Regions from separate parts of the Homo sapiens genome. Here regions 1 and 2 are each linked to region 3. The links are contacts of gene promoters, found by promoter capture Hi-C in blood cells and fetal thymus (Javierre and others, 2016). All regions are on one chromosome and are shown on one strand. Each heading gives the region's core, a stretch centred on a gene start or on the middle of the fragment in contact. The rest is flanking DNA. Distances are from core to core; before and after follow the strand shown.

The links. Contacts are between HindIII fragments. The CHiCAGO score rates a contact against its expected background, and 5 or more counts as called.
Region 1: a contact is called between a fragment that was not itself captured here and the fragment with the promoter of PNLDC1 in region 3, in 1 of 17 cell types (M0 macrophages). The highest score is 5.2, in M0 macrophages.
Region 2: a fragment that was not itself captured here is called in contact with the fragment with the promoter of PNLDC1 in region 3 in 5 of 17 cell types (total CD4 T cells, naive CD8 T cells, total CD8 T cells and 2 more); the score reaches 9.4 in total CD4 T cells.

What each region holds. Positions count from the first base shown.
Region 1 is chr6:159,169,561-159,173,835 of GRCh38, reverse strand. It overlaps FNDC1 (fibronectin type III domain containing 1), which reads right to left. Exons shown (of 23, transcript NM_032532.3): 1 at 4,131-4,275. The coding sequence starts at 4,239. It overlaps FNDC1-AS1 (FNDC1 antisense RNA 1), which reads left to right and starts at 3,829. Exons shown (of 4, transcript NR_121668.1): 1 at 3,829-4,024. RefSeq lists an enhancer at 3,082-3,581. The HindIII fragment of the contact is 1,395 bases long and covers 1,983-3,377 here.
Region 2 is chr6:160,452,764-160,457,076 of GRCh38, reverse strand. No RefSeq gene overlaps it. Among named protein-coding and RNA genes, the nearest start is that of SLC22A3, 110 kb to the right of the region's middle. The HindIII fragment of the contact is 6,115 bases long and covers 1-4,313 here.
Region 3 is chr6:159,798,725-159,803,324 of GRCh38, reverse strand. It overlaps PNLDC1 (PARN like ribonuclease domain containing exonuclease 1), which reads right to left and starts at 3,049. Exons shown (of 19, transcript NM_001271862.2): 1 at 2,942-3,049; 2 at 2,496-2,553; 3 at 2,139-2,212; 4 at 15-54. The coding sequence starts at 3,017. The HindIII fragment of the contact is 10,328 bases long and covers 1-4,600 here.

The DNA.
Region 1 (4,275 bases), core at 1,431-3,930, 630 kb after region 3:
AGCATGGAAATAGATTCTCCCTTAAAGTTTCAATGCAGGCCTTGATTTTTGCCCAGTACCGCACATTTCAGACTTCTGATCTCTATAACTATAATAAAGATCATAAATTTGTATTGTTTCAAGTCATTAAGTGTGTGGCAATTTGTTATAGCAATAGGAAATGAATACACTCTCCTTCCCCTCCTGTTTTCAGGGAACGGGCCTTTAGAACTTAAGTATGATGTGAATGGTCTTGGTAGAGTATATTCATCATGCTCTGGAACTGTCTGGTGATAACTTTCCAGGGGTGCAAATTGTCACTCTGCAATCCTATTACAACCTCTGATTCCACAGGAATAAATTTCATGATCAGTTGATGAACAAAACAGCTCTTCCATCTGCCATTGGCGGGTGCCAGTGCACAAAAAAGGAGAGAGGGTCTCACCACGTTCTCTCAAAGAGGACTGAAGTAACAGGGAAACCCCATAAAGCCACATGCAGGTTGAGCCACAGGCGAGCTTCTAAAGGCTTCCAGAGATGGAAGGAGCCTCCTTCAATTGACCTATTCTGAAGCGCGGAGACTAGCCCAAGGCCCCCAGAGGTGCAGGACAGCACTGCCACTCACACCCAGGCATCCTGATTTTTAACCTACTTCCCTCCGTATATACCAGTGTGTCTCAAACATTTTGGTGTCTGAATTATCTTCTATTCTTAAATTTACGAGGATGCCAAGGAGGTTATGTTTCTGTGAGTTTTATCTATCCTTATTGACTTTACTGGGAATTAAAACGAAAATATGTACTTATTTATTTTAAAAAACAATAATAAACCATTACATGTTGACATACAAATATATTTATATGAAAAGTAACTGTTTCCCAAAACAAAGAGAAATGAGTGAGAAGAGCAGCTTTGTTTCTACATTTTGGCAAATCTTTTTAATAGAATATCTCCGATCTGCTTATGCATTCAATCTATTGCAATATGTCGTTTTGCTTGGAGAAAACCCAGCCTCACACAGATGTGTAGCTGGACAACTATTTCAATAGCCTTTTTGGATAATTTTGAAAAATCTTTGATATTACACCAAAATTCATCAAGTAGCCAATTCTTAGAATCTGAAATCATATGAAGAATTTTTCATATTTTGTTACATTAAAAATCCATTGGGCTATCATGCACTTTGAACAGACCTTTTACCCATGCAAGATTGTTGTAAGGCTATACACTGGTCATTTGGATCTATTGGTTTATTTGGTTATGCAGATCATCCAAATGTTGACACATTTTATGAGATGACATTTACAAATCACATTCATTTATATCACCATTGATCTCACTAGAAAAAAATTTAAATATTGGGAAACTTTCAAGCTTACAGTGGTGGAAACAACTTGGCAAAATTCTGATTTTCACTTGAAAGCTGAAATGTTATCATTGGCAAGCAATAATAGCAGTTATTTTACTAGAAGTAGCAAGTTCCCTTTGTTCATTTTTGAGAAAACATCGGCCAAATACCCAAGTCAGAATAGCTCTAGTTTGTCTGTTGTCATTCTTTGTGGTAAATACCACATTCCATTTTAAAAAACCAGCTAGCTTAATGCATAACACAAACAATCACACCAGTGCTTCCCCCTGGGGTTGCCACTGAACTTGGTCATCAGCAGTAGTAACTTATGTGTCCTTCCCATTTATTTACACTATTAAAAAGACATACACTCAAAGATACAAAGATTTGGTAAAATTAATAATTTTACTGTGGCATCAAGAACATTCTTAATGAAACTGGCAAATTTTTTTTAACTGCAAAGTCCCCCCAAAATTCAAAGACTACTAGTGCATGGTGATGTCCCTGCCTTGATTCTCAGTAAGACACCCGCAGTTTACCCATCAAGCTTTTGCACCCTCAGTGCAAATGTCAACTGTGAAAAAGGAAAATAGCATCTTAGTAATCTTAGTATTACTTTGAAAATAGTTTTGACATGGAAAATTCCCTAAAAGCTTCTTTAAAGAAGAAAATAAAAATCATCCCTAACCATCCTAAGATACCCACTGCAAATATGTGCATGTGTGAGTACATCCACATGTGTTTAGAAAAATGTATCATACCAGACTGGCAAGGCCATCATAATTTTAATGTTTGCATAGTATCCTATTGTAGGGATGAATATGAGTGGAGGAGGGGACACTGCTTGCTTATTTTGTTTTATGTTTAATTGACCCTACACTGAAGGGCTTATCCAGATCTTCAGTGTGTCCTGCTTTAAGCAAAGTCCCTCGGAGCCACTATTATGTGGCCGTGGGTAATTTCCTTACAGAGATTCTGGCCCCAAAAGGGTGGTGAAGGGGAGAGCTTGACACAAGCAGCTCGCTTGGTCCATGCATTAGTTCAACCAGAGAGAGGGAGCAGTCTATCCATGACGTTGCTGTCAAAGGGAGCCCATGAAAGAAGTTATGTACCCCATAATTTCATCCACAGCATGGGGAGCTATCTACAGGTTGCTATGTCTGTTTCTATCCTTCTATTACTTAATTTAAATTTAGTAGATTTCATTCTGAAATGTGCCTGTCCTCCTTTGTCCACCTCTAGTCTGGTCATCATTTGACTGTAGATCCCACGTCAACACAGTAGAGAGAAGGGCTGGGAAGCTGTCCAGCCCCAGCATTCCTCAGCACAGTGATTCACAGAGCAGAAGGCGAAAAAGCAAGAGTGCAGATCGCGGTGGGATTCCAGGAGCTCTCACAAACAACCCCGCTCGGACCCACTCACATGCAACCCACGGGCAGGTGGCAGAGGAATCGGAAAAGCAGAAGGCTGGAATCGCCACAAAGCCAGGGCAGCACTGGTTCCAGTTTCAGATCATTTTCAGAAACAAAAACTCTTCCAGCACTCTGAAAATTTTCACTTAGAAAAACAAAAGCCAGGAGTTGTAGGTGGGGAAGTTGGAAGACTTTATTTAGTTTTATTCCTCTCAAGTACTGTGCAAAGTATTCAGTGAATACTTTCCTAGAGTTCACTAATGGGAAGAAAAAGACCCTACGGCAGGCACTGCCTTTTATGAGAAAGTGGCATTGGCATCAGAATACCTCGCATAAACCTGAGCCAAGCATTGGGATGATGTATCTACCAAAAAGTCACAAAGTAATGTGATCCCCAACTTTTCTTCCTTTACCCCTGAAGTAAGAGAACAATATATACACTAAATAGCATCATAAAACTGGTACCCTCGTTGGAATAGTATCTGACGATCATTGTCTGCTTCTTGGATTTCTACAAACCAATAACCTAAAAGCCAGTTTCAAGTGTAAAAATGCCTGCAAAGGAGGTGGTAACAAGGGCCGCCAAAGGCTTAGGAATGAAAACCTCGCCACAAACTTGTCTCTCTCTGCAGGAAGCTTGCAAGAAATCTGACAGGAGCGCGCTAGCATTTTCTGAAAAGCATTGCTCTCAAAGGAAGCATCCATCCTGGCTGCAGCCTCAGCCATTGGGGAAGGGCGAGTTTCTCTGGAATCAGCTTTCTCATTTCCCTCTCCCTCCTCTCAAGACAAACATTTTCTCCCAGCTTGAACGTTCCCCCCGGGCGCGCGGGCCTCCTGCCGCCTGGAGCCGAGCTGGCACTGGAGCGCTTCTCCTCTGGAGCGCAGAGGCACCCGACGCCCTGCGGCAGCTCGCAGCCTTTCCCCCACGACCTTCTAGAACAGCCCTGCTCTGCCTCCCTCCGGTCTCCCGAGTGCGCCCGTCATCCTGCCTCGCGAGAGGTGAACGCGGAGAAAGTAGGATGACCACCTACGCTCCCGAGAAATTCTGGGCAAAGAAAGGCATTACCCCAGTCCGCACGCTGAAAGTCGCCTTTCTTTTCCTTTTTTCCCCGCTGTGCCTGAATCTCCCGGGACACTTAGACGGCTGGAGCCTCCCGACTCCAAGGCGGGCGACGGCAAAGTTAAACGCCAGCGCGCTGCGGTCCCCGGGCACCGAGGCGTCCCCGCTCCCGCCACCCACACAGGGCGCCAAGTGCCCCGACCCGCGAGTGACGAGGACGCACAGGCTAGTGACACGACCCGTAGCCAGCACTGAGCGGGACGACGGGGCCCGAGCGCAGGAGGGTGCGCGGGGAGCTGAGGAGCGCCGGGGGCCCGGGCGCGGCGCGTACCTGAGGCCGCCGCCGAGGAGGCGACGGGGAGCAGCGCGGCCAAGAGCAGCAGCGCCGCCCAGGACAGCCGGCGCGGCGCGCGCAGGGTCGCCCCGGCCTCGGGGGCCATCGAGAGCCCGGGGTGGGCCGGGGCTGGGTGCTTGCG
Region 2 (4,313 bases), core at 757-3,256, 650 kb before region 3:
TGAGTTCTGTCTCTCCCATATTCCATGTGACGTTGGGCAGTTATTTAATCTCTTTTAGCCTCAGCTTTCTCATCTGTACTTACATATAAGGTCATTGTGAGGATTAGGGTTATTAATCATCGCCGTCATCCCCGTCCACCACTTATCATCATCCTCCCCATCAACATCATCACCACCACCGTCATCATCATTACTACCATTACCATCACCACCATTCCACCACCATCACCATCATCACCATCACCACCGCCATCATCATCATTACTACCACTACCACCGCCATCACCACCATCACCATCACCACCATTGCCATTATCACTACCACCACCATCATCACCATCACCACCACCATCACCATTATCATTACCACAACCATCATCACCACCACCATCATCACTATTATCACTACTATCACCATCACTATCACCACTATCATCATAAATAAACATCACATAACCGGCGTGTAACCGGGCCTTGACCCCAGAGCCCACTCGCTGTGTCCTCTCTCCCACCCCCTTCTGCACATTTCTAACCACCATCCTGCACTGGCTCCCTGTCTCCTCTGGTCTCACCCACATGTCCACTGAGAAAATGATTCTCAGAACACTAACTAGACCAGGAGGAGTCACAAAACATAACTCAGATCTGTTTATCGATTTTCTATATGTTGATGACATCAGATCAATGGGTGTTCTCAGCTTCTCAGAGGGAGGTCGAAATTCTCCCCCTCTCCCCTTCATGTTTCCAGACCTTCCTTGACTTGGATATTCCAAATGCAGAGTAGGTGTTGAGGCCAAGGGGCTCTTCCGTGTCAGCCCCATCCACAATCACTGGGCTAATCTTGTGGCCCTCTCCCCAGGACCCAATCAGGGAGGGCTTCAATCCTCAAGGTCACCCGTGGCCCCCCGCCCTCAGAGGTGCCATCTCTACATTGGCCACTGGATGGCAGCACATACTCACAGACCGCGTCAATTTCCTGGCAACTAGTGGTGGGTTTACCTCCTGATCAGGATGTTTGCCTTGCTCTGAGAGCAGATCTGAGAGCAGTGATATCTAACTTAATTTTCAGCAAAATATTTTGAAAAGGGTGCTCCCTCACCCATCTACACAGTCCACGTCATGCACCCCCTGCCCGATGCTTGGTAGCCAGGAGGAGCTTCCTCCATGCAGCTCCTTCCCGGCTAGGGCTGAGCTGGGCTCTGGAGCCAGGCTCTGGGAAGAGCCTCTTCTACGCTGCTCATGTAAACTCCAGATTCAGTGTCAGTTTTCTGAACCTGAGACAATGATCTAAGTGCAGTCCAACACTTTGGGGGAAGAAAGAAAGAGTGCCTCAGCTTTTGCCTGTGTCATGCTCGCAAAGCAAAATATTTTGAGAAATTCTAATCAAAGCTGGGCTTGCAAAATTGGAAAACGATTATTTGTGAGAGCACTGAGACATCCTTGGCGTGTCCATCTGGAAAAACAGCATTCCCTCTGGCAGTTTAGCAGATGTTCTGTTTCAATTTGGCAAAGGAAATAAAGCAGTTTTTCACAAAAGAAAAACTACAACTAGGAGAATTGTCCCTAGTTGTATTTCTTCTCCCTAATTGTCAAGGAAGTGTAAATCAGAAAATGAATCAGGACAATTTCCACCTACTATGTTAGCTAATCTTTTAAAAATTGAATACTCACAAGGGTGAGGAGAATTGTTTCCAGTAACATTTTATACTGTCACACACTTTTAGAAAATAATTTGGGAGTGTTACCGCGAGATGGAAATATGTCAACATAATTATGGGAACTTAGACTTCAGAAAAGAAACGAGAATGAACTTTATGAACAAACATGTGGAAGATTGGAAGCAAGAGTGGGGCCAGTGTGCACGGGGAGGAAGCATTTGGGCAGTGACTCCGCAGACCCAGGCTCAAGCTGAACTACACAACCTCCTTACACCTCAGTTTCCTCAGCTGTAGAACAGGAATGATAAAAGTGCCTGTTTCATAGGACGGTTGTGAGGATGAAGTGAGATACACCACATTAAGAGCTTGTGCCTGAAAAGGTTAATTCTTAGTAAATGACGACTATTCTTTTTATTGCAATAAAATATACACAACATAAGAGTTAGGATTTTAATTATTTTGCAGGGTACCACTGAATGGCATTCAGTACATTCACAATGGTGTGCAACCATCACCATATTTTCAGAACATTTTCCTCATCTCAAAAGGAAACCTCATGCCAATTAAGCAGTCACTCCCCATTAAAATATTAGTTATGAAGATTGTAGCATTATTTTAAAAACTCATGATATACATTGATTGAAAAAATCAGTATATAAAATTGTGCATTATGATGTAAGTAGTAAAGAAGCATATAAAAAATCTGAAAAAGTATATAAAAAGAATAGCAATTGCATTTCTCAGACTCTCTTTACATTGTAAAAATCATTTTCATACTTTCAAAAGAAAAGCAAAAAGTACACAAACAACAACGAACGTAAAACACCATGACAAAGCCCAGATCGTTAAACCCAGATCTCAGGAACACAGAATCATATATGATGTTTACACTCTCCAAGGTCAGAGAGTCCAGCGGCATTGGGAGCTGCCTTGTGTTCTGCAGCCTCACGGACAGACAGGAGGTCCAGTGCCACTGCTCTGTTCTTCTGGTTTTCCTCCTAAACATGTTTTGGGTTCAGCAACCATTTCTTTCATCTTTTAAACACAGGTACCTTTGGGGCTGGCCTTCTCAAGGAAGCCCCAGCTTCTTGTGATTGAGAATAAAGTGTGCAATCGCTATGAGTATCTGAATGGAAGAATCAAATCCACTGAGCTCTGTGCTAGGCATTTGGCTGGAGGCACTGACAGTTGCAAGGTAAGAAAAGGTCAAGAGACCAAAGTTAGTCTTGTGCTCTCCCTTCTTGGTCTCAGCCCCTTAGACTTCAGTCCCAAAGAGGCAAATTCTAGAAGGATTTGTCAACGTTAGACCCCAGTCTAAGTGTTGTTTAGAAACTGCCTAGATCTGTCCCTGAATGCGTATTCAGATCATCTAAGGGGATGTCTTGGGGCTTGAGTTCCAGATCGGTAGCAAGGGAGTTTTAAGTGCCGTAACTACCTCAGGCCACTCACCCTCCTGGGGTGTGCTGGTGGCCAGGGACTAAAGTGGTGACTTTTCCGACAGGGAAGGAGGTAGAGGGTACAGGACAGAGACCAACTGCACATACTTTACAGTGATGCCCAGGCTAGGCCAGTCTAAAGGAAACACCAACACAGGAAGGGATGTGTGCAGGATTCACAAGGGTTTTTTTTACCCCTGGGAGAAACTAAGTGGTGTGGTTTCGCTGAATAGATTTTGCTAAGTACTTAAGCACTGCAGATGCTCCAGTAATATGCCCATAAGTTCCTTTCCAATTTCAATTACTGGGAAAATATACATATGGACAATAGATGGATGCCACAATAAAAGGCTGGCAGCCTAACCCTCACATGAATTTTTCCCTACCTCTATTTAGGGTGACAGTGGAGGGCCTCTGGTTTGCTTTGAGAAGGACAAATACATTTTACAAGGAGTCACTTCTTGGGGTCTTGGCTGTGCACGCCCCAATAAGCCTGGTGTCTATGTTCGTGTTTCAAGGTTTGTTACTTGGATTGAGGGAGTGATGAGAAATAATTAATTGGACGGGAGACAGAGTGACGCACTGACTCACCTAGAGGCTGGAACGTGGGTAGGGATTTAGCATGCTGGAAATAACTGGCAGTAATCAAACGAAGACACTGTCCCCAGCTACCAGCTACGCCAAACCTCGGCATTTTTTGTGTTATTTTCTGACTGCTGGATTCTGTAGTAAGGTGACATAGCTATGACATTTGTTAAAAATAAACTCTGTACTTAACTTTGATTTGAGTAAATTTTGGTTGTGGTCTTCAACATTTTCATGCTCTTTGTTCACTCCACCAATTTTTAAATGGGCAGATTGAGGGGGTTGTGCTGTTTTTGATAAGGAACAGAGCACAAAGACCTGAGCAGGCTGCAAGGTCACAGAGGGCAGAGCCGAGAAGTCCTAGGAAGTTGTCCATGCATTTACCTCATCAGCTAACGAGGGCTTGACACACATTTTTATGTCTTTATACCTAACTCTGAGATGAATGTTTTCAAAGCTGCAACATGTATGGGGAGTCATGCAAACCGATTCTGTTATTGGGAATGAAATCTGTCACCGACTGCTTGACTTGAGCCCAGGGGACACGGAGCAGAGAGCTGTATATGATGGAGTGAACCGGTCCATGGATGTGTAACACAAGACCAGCTGAGAGTCTGAATGTTATTCTGGGGCA
Region 3 (4,600 bases), core at 1,800-4,299:
CTCTTGATACATACTTGTTTGCCTCTCCTTCAATAGCGGAAAACACAGACAATCCTGGAAGAATGACCGTAGAGGGAATGAATGCCAAGGAAAAGCAACCTGAATTTCACTACAAAGACAAAAACAACTCAAACAGTACTTTGCGCCCACAGATACTATGTGGGCTGTACAACAGGATAACATCTTTAATGACAAAAAAGAAAAGACAGACTGGAAGCATGAGAAATGTCAAATTGTAATTCACACTGAATTTGCTAAAATCTAATTGTGGCCTGTTCTTCAAATACAGAAGTAAATATTAAAATGACATTCTCATAGTTTTAAAACTATCCACAGAAAATACCAAAAACCATTAAGATTTATATATTTAACTCATTTAAAATGTCTATTCCTCCCCCCTCAAAGAAAACCATATGCAAAGTTAAAAAAAAAAAAGACTTCAGGCCAGGTGCGGTGGCTTATGCCTGTAATCCCAACACTTTGGGAGACCTAGGCAGGTGGATCACTTGAGGTCAGGAATTCGAGACCAGCCTGACCAACATGGTGAAACCCTGTCTCTACTAAAAATACAAAAATTAGCTAGGTGTGGTGGCGCGCACCTGTAATCCCAGCTACTCAGGAGGCTGAGGCAGGAGAATTGCTTGGGCCTGGGAGGCAAGGGTGTTGCAGGGAGCCAAGATCGTGCCCCTGCACTCCAGCCTGGGCAACAGAGCAAGACTCTGTCCCCCTTCCCCCCAAACAAATTTGGGTACAACAATGGAAACATAACTACAACTGTTTCCTATACTTCTCAAAGAGGTCTTATAATTAAAAACAAACAAACGAACAAAAAAAAAACCATAACAGAAAAGTAGCAAAGGATCAGGATAGAGAGGAAAACACACACACGTTCAGCATCATTCATAGTAAAAGCAGGGGCTGGGCGTGGCAGCACTCCCAGCTACTTCAGAAGCTGAGACTGGAGGATCTCCAGAGCCCAAAAGTTTGAGCCCAGCCTGGGCAACACAGCAAAAACCCAATGGTGCGGGAGAGGGCACAGACAAACCCAGAAAAGTAAAATCTGGCCCAGGGTCTGTTTCTGTAAATACAATAACATTTTACTGGAATGGAGCCATGCTCATTTGTTCATGTATTCTCTACAGCTAATTTCACATTACAAAAGCAGGATTGAGTAGCTGTAAAAGAAACAGCATTACGCAACCGTTAACAGCTCTGTCTTGACCAGCCTGGCCAACATGGTGAAACCCCATCGCTACTAAAAATACAAAAATTAGCCAGGCCTGGTGGCAATTGCCTGTAATCCCAGCTGCTCTGGAGGCTGAGGCAGGAGAATCACCCGAACCTGGGTGGTGGAGGTTGCGGTGAGCCCACATCGCGCTACTGCACTCCAGCCTGGGCAACAGAGCGAGACTCCATCTCAGAAAATAAACTAATAACTAAATCAACAAATAGATCTGTATGAACCGATACAGAAAGATCTCCAAATCCCATCAAGGAAAAAAAAAAAGTTTCTGAAACTGAGATGACCTTAAAAAAAATTATTTTTGTGTGTAAATTTTCTTAAGAAAAAAAAATCACAGGCCAGGTGTGGTTGCTCACGCTTATAATTCCATCACTTTGAGAGGCAGAGGCAGAAAGATTGCTCGAGCCCAGGAAGTCAAGAACAGCCTGGCCAACATGACGAAAACCCATCTGAACAAAAAATTTAAAAATTAGCTAGGTGTGGTGGTGAGCCTGTAGTCCCAGTTTACTCAGGAGGCTGACGTGCTAGTATCACTTGAGCCCAGGAAGTCTAGGCTGCAGTGAGCTAAGACTATGCTACTGCACTCCAGTCTTGGTGACAGAGCAAGACCCTGTCTCAAAAAATAAAATAAAAATCGCACACACACAGTTTTACTTGAAAGAGTAACAGTGAGTGTTCCTTAATACTGACTTATTTAAGCACGGAAACAATGCTGCTAAATTTGGTTTGCTCCGAAGTGTTGATTTCCATATGTATACAATGGCCCAACACAAAACAAGCATACAAAACGATACTCAATATCCTTGAAAAATCTCAGAGCTGTTTTTACAGTAGGAAATCCAAGGACAATAAAAATACCTTCTTGAAAAACTCTAACAGCTGATATTAAACTCACCAATCTGACAGACTGTAAATTGCTGAACACTCTGACGGGTCTTTAGATACCACTCCGATGGCAAATCAAAAAGACTGTGAACAAACAGGCATCTCATTCCACGAGCAATGACATCCCATCCCGGCACTATGGCCTCCGCGGCAGGACCACCACTCGCAACCGGGGAGGATTTTTTCCTTGTTACAACAACTAGGGAGCACTACCATCATTTAGTGGACAGAAAAAAGCAAGGTCCTCCAACACGTAGGAGCAAGCCACACAAAACGTCCTGCCCCCCAAATGCCAACAGGCTGCTGGCCAGAAACAGTGCTGGTCTGGCCAGGCTCTTATACAGAGGGGACACAGCTTTAGTTTTACCTGATCTGCTGGGGCCCAGACAGGTTAGAACGAAGGCCCGTGAACTCTATGTCCAGACCTGCCAGGAAGGCAAAAAATAGCAGTCCTCGGGTGCAGAACATCGCCAGCACTCCTCACACTGTAGATCTGCAGGCGGCCAAGGCACCCGCGCTCACCTCTGCGCTCAAGAAGCCAAGTGAGGTCAGGAAGGGAAAATGGAGGAACCAAGGCAAGGAGCAGCCAGGCACCTGGGCGCACGGGGCTCTGGCCAACAAGGGACGTGGGGCTCGGAGTGTACTTGCTGCTCAAAGTCCCACCGCCCCGGGGCTGGAGAAGGAAGCCCCCCTGTCCTTCCCGAGGCCCTCTCTGAGGCCCTGTGGCCTGGCAACCGTCCCGCCACCCCCTCCTCAAGCTCGCCCGGGGCAAGGGGCTCTGTCCGGCACAGCCGCGAATCCCAGGCTCTTCACCCACGAAGTCGGCCTCCTGGACGAGCTCCTGCAGCAGAGGGAGGCTCTCCTCGAACTCGTCGGCGCCCACGTCCATGGCCGTGCAGCTCCGCGGAGTCGCCCAGCGCTATCACGTGCTGCCCACGTGCTGCCCACGCGCTTCCGTCGCGCCGCCGGGTCTTAAAGGGCGCACACATGGAAACCAGGCAGCTGCCTCCGCCCCACGTGCCCAGCTTCCCCGTGTGCTGCTGGCGTCGCCCACACCTGCCTGCGGGTGTTTTAATTGTACGATTTGCTACAGAGGTTTGATTGCAATTGCAATCAAAGCCTGTTTACCTGGCTCCTCAGCAATTTCTTTGCAGCCCTTAACGTGAGAATGTCATTTACATGGACTTAGAATGTTAAGAGGCGTGGCAGGAGACGAAGACAGAGTCCAGAAAGGGTGAAATCAGAAAAGCGGAGCAGGAACAACACCGGACGCAACTGCAATAAGCAGATCCTTTGCTGCGGCTCACGGTCTTCTAAATCACCTCTTCCCAACTTCTCCATCACTGCCAGTATGTCTGTCCCCATTCCCTCTCCCACGCCCCTGGACATCTTTTTCCTCATTCTGCTGTCCACCTTACCACTGTCTTCACACCTGCAATCAAACTTTGCAAAGCCTCAAGAACTGCCCATTAAATTGAAGGAATCCTTGGTCCCCAGGGATTATCTCGTGCACTCACTCCTTGCGGAAATCCCTACCTACATCATCACATACATGTGAGCTTAATTTTTACTTTTGTTACTGTTTCCAGTGCAACTAGTCCATGGTCTTCCTTACAGTGTCCTCCCTTGAATTCTAGGCTTCTACTTGAACAGCGTTTTGGAACTATGGTCCTCAAAGTGAGGTGCTCAAATCAATCTTTAAGGTTAGCGGAGAAAACATTACCGTTATACTTTATTTTTTCCTTTTGAGACAGTCTCACTCTGTCACCCAGGCTGGAGTGCAGTGGTGCCATCTCGGCTCTCTGCAATCTCCACCTCCTGAGTTCAAGCGATTCTCCCGCCTCAGCCTCTGAACAGCTGGGATTACAGGCATGCACCACCACGCCCAACTCATTTTTGTTTTTAGTAGAGATAGGGTTAAACCGTATTGGCCAGGCTGGTCTCGAATTCCTGGCCTCAAGTGATCCACCTGCTTCAGCCTCCTAAAGTGGTGGGATTAGAGGTGTGAGGCACTGCATCCGATCTTCAATTATACTTTTAAATGCCTCTCCGGGACATTAATTAAGCAAAAGGGGACTATTAAGCCATTTGATTCTGAAGACCTCTCAGAACAAATCATACTTCATACAGATGTGTTCCATTTAAAATAACACATTGAATACTCAAATTGGCAGAAGTAACATATTTCACTTCTAAACAAACATTTAATTGGGGTATACATTAAAAAAACTGGAAAACAATGCTCTAGAAGCCACCTTAACTGCCTACAGGTTTTTTCTCACATTTATCAAATAGCCAAAAATTAACACCTTAATCAGCTCCTTTCAGAGAACTGCCATGATTCCCATCTACCCAAGCTCAAATTTTAGATTAACTTGCATGCATTTCAAGTTTCATCTCCTATCTAATAAAATGTTCACTTCATGGCAAATTGAGCGCCCACTAACCCCAACCATTTCCACCTCTGCTTTC